Linked DNA regions of Homo sapiens: region 2 is linked to region 1. Evidence: promoter capture Hi-C in human tissues and cell types (Jung and others, 2019). All regions are on one chromosome and are shown on one strand. The core of a region is centred on a gene start or on the middle of the fragment in contact, and the rest is flanking DNA. Distances in the headings are between cores, read along the strand shown. Region 1 holds the start of CNRIP1 (cannabinoid receptor interacting protein 1). Region 2 overlaps PPP3R1 (protein phosphatase 3 regulatory subunit B, alpha).

Region 1 (3,408 bases), core at 603-3,102:
GGGACTGCAAGAGTGCACTACCTAGCCAGGCTAGAACCAGAGTTTTTGTTTTTGTTTTTGTGTGGGTTTTTTTTTTTTTTTTCAGATGGAGTCTCACTTTGTTGCCCAGACTGGAGTGCAGTGGCATGATCTCGGCTCACTATAAGCTCTGCCTCCCCAGCTCAAGCGATTCTCATGCCTCAGCCTCCCAAGTAGCTGGGACTACAGGCATGCGCCACCACGCCTGGCTAATTTTTTGTATTTTTAGTAGAGACAGGTTTTGCCATTTTGGCGAGGCTGGTCTTGAACTCCTGGCCTCAAATGATCTGCCCTCCTTGGTCTCCCAAAGTGCTGGGATTCCAGGCATGAGCCACCATGCCGGCCTTAGAACCAGGTTTTAAAATGGAGTCATCATCCTCCAGGTCCAATGCTCTTTTTGATACACAGGTGGAAGTTGGCTTGAGATTGTGGGGTTGCTAAACAAAAGGTTGAGGAAAAAAGGCAAAATTTCCAAAAAGGCTTTTAAATGACCCCAAAAAGATACTCACCCTCTTTCCACTACTCATAAACCATAATAACCAACATTAAGTTTACTGTGTAACTCTCTCATTCTTTTAAAAGAGCTAATACAAACATACACATTTATATTCTTTTTAAATTTTCATTTTTCTAAAACACTAGAGATGCTACTTGCAATTAGATTTCTTTTCATCATTCCAGGTAAATCGCAAGGATCTAATTAATTTTAAAGATGTGAAAGAATTTACATATGGACATGATTAAGACCACAACCGTAAGTCAATTCAACAACGATTTCTGGAGCACCTACTATGTGTCAGGCACTATTTTGGCATGCTGGGGAAACAGCAACAAACAAAACAGACAAAATGCTCGCCCTCAGGCTTTGTTTCCCAGCCATCCCACTTTTATCATTAACAGTTTTTGCCTGTGTGTTTGCCAATGCAACCTATATTTCATTATTTTGATAGTTGTGTAACGTTCTATAGTGTGGGTATATAAGAATTTATTCAGCCATTTATTTATTGGTTAACATTTCATTTAGGTTTTATTTTTATTTTTGCAACCAATGTTGCAATAAACACCCATATTACATATATATTATATGTATAGCTTATTATTTCTTAAAAAAGAGCAGTCTAACTTGGGTAAACAAAAACTGCCAAGGAAACGCATCCCTACCCATTTGTTCTCACTAGCCCACTTCATTTCCCAGGTGTGCTCCCTGGCTCTGGTACTATCCATCTGGGTGGTGCTGAAGCAGGTGCTCTCTCTGCTCCGGGAAGCCATTCCCAGTATAGTCCTCACCCCCTGAGTCTCCCCTCGCTTCCAAAAGTCAGCTGTCTACCGACCTCTGCCACGAAAACTGTCTAATCACGCTTAATATGCAAATCTAAACTCTGCGGTGTCGCATATGGCCCCCTGCCAATAATCCTTTGACCCATCCCACCTCTTGGCCATTTTGTCACCAGAATGCCTTAGGCTCATGTCAGTTGCCTTTTACAGGGTTAATAGCTCACCCTTCAAAATCTGTGTAAATATATGTGATTCATTACATATATTTATGTATGTGTCATTTTTGGGACGAGCATACGTATAATGGAAATGTACACCCACAAGAAGATGTAGCTCCTTGAATATGGTTATTTTCTTCCTCTTGCATCCATTCCTCATCCAGCGTGGCTCCATCACGTGGAATTGCGCCTTTCCTCGGCCATTTCCCCTAAGCTTTGGAAAGACTCATATTTCCTGAAATTTAAATCACCGGCTAGCGGTTTCCTGTCCCCCCTTCCCGCCTCCCTTTACCCCCCCTCAGCCTCCTCCCGCCTGGCTGGCGCCGGATCCGCGAGCAGCAGTGTCCACCTCACGTAGCTGGCCGAGGCGGTATCCAGATTCCGGGGGTCTCGCTCCTTGGCATAGTGGTCGCTTAACTCCAGCGCCTTCCCAGTGCCTCCCAAACCTCTCCTCCTCCTGCCCGGGGCTGTTCTAGGAGGAGCCTAAATGTCCGCTTCCCCAGCTGAAGGGGATTGTGGTGCGTAAACAGGATTAACTCCCTCGCCCCCAGCTGCGCGGATCTGCGCGGCGGCCTGCGGGCCAGAGCGAGCCTTCGGGTGCGTGGAGGGCGCAGCACTGGAGCGGGGGATGGGGAAGCGCGCGGCCTTGGAGCCGTCTCTTGGGCCCGCTTCCTCGCCGAGTGGGGAGGGGGGCCACAGCCTAAGGAGCTGCTCCTCAAAAGCCCGGGCGGACGGCGGCGACGGCGCGGGTTCCTAGCGGCAGCCTCAGCTCCACCACCTCCCTCACCCTCCCCGCGCTTCCTCTCCGCCCCTCGCGCTCCAGCCACTCGGCCGCAGCCGGCGCTGTCCTCCGCCCCCCGGAGCCGCCGCGCCAGACCCTCGCCCAGACATGGGGGACCTGCCGGGCCTCGTGCGCCTCTCCATCGCGCTGCGCATCCAGCCTAATGACGGCCCGGTCTTTTACAAGGTGGACGGGCAGCGCTTCGGCCAGAACCGCACCATCAAGCTGCTCACCGGCTCCTCCTACAAGGTTGAGGTGAAGATTAAACCCAGCACGCTGCAGGTCGAGTGAGTGCGGGGCGCCTGGTGGCAGCAGGGTCCCCCATGGGGTACAGGCAGAGGACTGAGGCCCCCAGGACAGCCCGAGCCTCTCAAGGGCCTCTGGCCTCGCGCCGCTCCCAGCGGGCCCGGGGGTTGGAGGAAGAGGTCACTCCCTGTCCGCCTTCGTCCCCTTCCTTCCCTTTGGCTTGTATTCCTCCATTCTCGCTTCCCTCCACCCATCGCAGTGACCTCAGTGGGTTCTTTAAAATCAGTGACAAGAAGCCAGGGTTTTTGCTTGTCTGTTTCTTATAAATTTCTCCTGCCTTCTGTCCAGCCTTGGGCGCGGAACCGCAGGCGGTCGGGGTGGAGCAGATGGGAGAGGTCCGCAGGGTTCAGCCACCGCAATCCCAGCCCTCCTGCGCGCGGTCCAGGCGGCCCACAGGGTCTGCCCGCAAGGCTGAAGGAGGGAGAAAGGAGGAATGAGGTGGAAAGGCAGGGGAGGGGTGATTACTGGGGCTCCCTGAGGGATGCTCCCCACTCCCTTCGCCATTCAGTGGCTGGGACCCTGGGGTGGAGCAGCAGACACTAGTAAGAGAGCGGCCGCCCCTTCTCTGGCCTAGTTTCACGGTTTTCCATGCCGTATGCTGTTCTTTTTCTCCTGAGTTTTCTGTTCAGGCTGGTGATGGTGCCTGGGATTAGCAACATCCCCACAGCAAGAGGATGTTTTTTGGTTTATCCATGGCAGGGACGATTTCTTGCCAGCGACCGCTGGATAATGCACCCAGTAGACCTCTGGCGGGAAAGTGTGTGGGAGCATGCAGTAGCCTACCCGGAAGAACTGCGGGTGGAGCCCCTT
Region 2 (3,408 bases), core at 240-2,739, 84 kb after region 1:
TTACTAGATATATCAAACATAGTTTCAGGTATAAAGATGAATGAAAAAAAGATACAGCCCCAGAAACTGTGGAGGGAAATATTATAGTAAGTGCTTCAGTAGCGCTACTATGAAGTGCTAGATTTCTTCTGGCTACTCTGCTTGTCCAGTTTGAACTTAACATGTAGCAGCTGTTTTGGTATTTTATTATTCATTCTCGTCACATTACTCATAGAGTTGTATAATGTCAAGTAATTGTTCAAGTGCTGAAAGAATACTATAATTTTTTTGTTGATTACATTGCTTATCAGTAAATTTAATTTGATATTATGAGAAGTAACATGATATGGTAGAGCAAGATTGGGCTATGGAATTGGAAGGCCTGTTTTGGAGTACTCTAAATTAAAAAAAAGTTATATTTGTAAAATAACCACCACAAGATTGCCTGATTCACAGTTCTTCTGAGTATTGGCGTAGGTAATTATTTAAGATGTTTGATAAATTGTAAAATGCTTTTTACATTTTTTAAGGAATCAATTGAACTACTGGAAACCAGTATGTAGTATTCTTGGCAGGTCTAGGTTTCATAATCCTAATTTCTTTGCAGCCCACTATTCAGAAATGTAGTGATTAACAGAGTCAAGAATGTTTCAGGATATTTTTGGCTACAAGTAACAATACCTAACTAAAAGTGACTTAAATAATAAGCAGTTTGTTATTTCACAGAATGAGAAGCTCAGAGCCAGAGAGTTACAGGGTTGGTTCAGCAGTTCAGTTTCATCAAGAACATAAGACTTGCTTACTTTAAAGCTCCTCTGCATGTCAGCAGAGGGCTGCCCCAATTTTAGATACCAACATCTGGCCAAAGAAGAGCAGGGAATGCTTCTTTAAGTACTTATTAGGGAGCAAAACTTCCTTAAAAGTCTCATAGGAGGTTTTTCCTTAGGTCTCATTGTATCTCAATGGCTCTTGCATACTAGAAAAAGGCCACATTCCTTACTCTGGCATTTAAGTTTTTATAACCTGGCCCTAGGTTACTTTCCATCACCAGAGTCTAGGCCATATGATAGTAAAAACAACCTCATCAGTATTTTATTAGGTACTCTGAATAATGGTCCCAGATTACTGATGGGATCTTAAATAGTAAAAGCTGTATCTGGCTTCTGATGTTATACTGACCTCTTCCCTCACCAGTACATAGCTATCCCCTCATGTTGTCATTCTCCTCACCAAAAATTTTGTCTAGTTACTGTAACCAAAATTCTACTTCCTCTCTGAAGGTTATCGTCTCCCCGAAGCTCTTTCAAGCGGAGCATAGCTGTTCATTTTAGGTTAGGGGTAATTAGGAGTTGTTGGCATTGTTTTAGATCATGAGTTGGAAAACTCTTTCTGCAAAGGACCAGATAATAAATATTTGAGGCTTGGGAGCCATACAGTCTGTTGCACCATTTCAACTCTGCCATTGTAGTGTGAAGCAGCTATAGACAGTACATAAATGAATGAGTGTGGCAGTATGCCAATAAAACTTTACAAACGCATGTTCACATAGTTTCTTAATATATATGATACCAAAACCACAAGCAATGAAAGAAAAAAAAGGTAAATTGTATATCATCAAAATTAACAAATCTAAGCTTCAAAAGACAAGAAAATAAGACAATTCTCAGAAAGGGGGAGTTTCTCAAAATCGTTATCTGATAAGAAATTTCTATTCAGGATATATAAACAATTCTTATAACTCAGCAATAAAAAGACAACTCAATTTAAAAGTGGGCAAAGGTTCTGAGTAGGTATTTCTCCAGAGAAGATATGAAGATGTCAGTAGTGCATGCAAAGATGCTCAACATCATTAGTCATTAGAGAATTGCAAATCAAAATGTCGAGATAGCACTTCACACCCACTAGGATTGTTATAATCAAAAAAGACTGATAAGTATTGTCAAGGATGTGGAGAAACTGGAACCCTCAAACCTTGCTGGTGGGAATGTAAATGTTTATAACTGCATTAGAAAATAATTCCTCAAAATGTCAAACATAGAGTTACCATATGACCTAGTAATTCCATTCCTGGGTATATACCTAAAAGAAATGAAACATGTGAAATGAAGTGAAAAACTTGGACATGAATGTTCATAATAACATTATTCATAATGGCCAAAAATGGAAACAGTCCAAATGTTTATTAACTGATGAATCGATAAATATGGTATGTTCATACGAATGAAATGTTCATTAGTAAAAAGAAGTGTGTTGATACTTGTTACAACACATTAGATTAACCTTGAAAATACTCGACTAAGTAGCCAGTCATACAGGATCATATATTGTATAATTTCATTTGTATTTAATATCCAGAATAGGCAAATATGTAGAGCCAGAAAGTAGATTTGTGATTACTTAGGGCTGGCCTGAGGGGGAGTTGGGGAATGACTGCCAGTAGATACAGGCTTTTGTGGGTAATAAATATGCTCTAAATTTGATTGTGGTGATGGCTGCACAATGGTTTGAATGTACTAAAACCATTGAGTTGTATACTTTAGATGGATGGTTTGTGTGGTATATAAATTATATTTCAATAAAGCGGTAATAAAACAAAACAGGTGGTAGGCTTATTGACCAGCAAGCCAAAGCTTGCTGACCCATAATAGATTATTCTTCATTTTCCTGCTAAGCCATTCTTTATCTGTTCTCATTGCTAACTCAAATCTTTCTCGTTACTCAATTTTTCATTCAAAATTTAAGTACTTGTCTCACATTTTCCCTCTGTGTTCCACCATCAGGTTACATCTTTATGGACATTCTAGCCTTAGTGTTTGTTGACCACCTCCATTTTACTAACCTTTAGTTTTCTCTCTACTTCAGCTATTTCCTATGGCCATAGTCAATATGGTATCTTATCATTATCTGAACTGTCCCATTGCTAGGACTTTATTTCTTGTTTTGAGATTACTTTCTCAATTATAATTATTGAAAATGCCATACATATATCATTTTCTGGTTTTTGAGGGGGTTATTATATATGTTTTTAAATTAGAAAGTAGTACCAAATTATTGTTGCTACCTGCAGGAAGTTGTTGGAAAGTTTCCATGTAATAGTATTTCACGTTTTTCATCCATTTTACTCCTCAGCTGTCTTCACCTGACACCCTCTCACTGTCGTGTTTCTGCGATTGTGACTGCTGTTTTAGATATATGGAAGACATTTAAAATTGCTATGCCAGTGTGAGTTGGCAGTAACAAGCCACTTGAATTTAAGTGTTCTAAGATGAGAAGAAAATGGCTGTAATAACTTCTTGCTCCTCTTGCATAATACAGAATGGCTGCGGCTTTATGATATGTTGGTAAGAATGTTATGGGATTTATATTAGCTTGAGTTCAAATTTGGTCTCTACCACTACCCAGCTGCGTGACCTTGTGCAAGCTGCTTAA

Evidence for each region. The method cuts DNA at HindIII sites, captures the fragments that hold promoters and counts their contacts. A contact is called where the count stands out against the background at its distance.
Region 2: a fragment that was not itself captured here is called in contact with the fragment with the promoter of CNRIP1 in region 1 in 2 of the 25 tissues and cell types used here (hippocampus and psoas muscle).

The regions. Positions count from the first base shown.
Region 1 is chr2:68,318,393-68,321,800 of GRCh38, reverse strand. It overlaps CNRIP1 (cannabinoid receptor interacting protein 1), which reads left to right and starts at 1,852. Exons shown (of 3, transcript NM_015463.3): 1 at 1,852-2,579. The coding sequence starts at 2,401. The HindIII fragment of the contact is 12,504 bases long and covers 1-3,408 here.
Region 2 is chr2:68,234,360-68,237,767 of GRCh38, reverse strand. The region is part of intron 1 of PPP3R1 (protein phosphatase 3 regulatory subunit B, alpha); the gene reads left to right. Among named protein-coding and RNA genes, the nearest start is that of PPP3R1-AS1, 16 kb to the left of the region's middle. The HindIII fragment of the contact is 7,084 bases long and covers 1-3,408 here.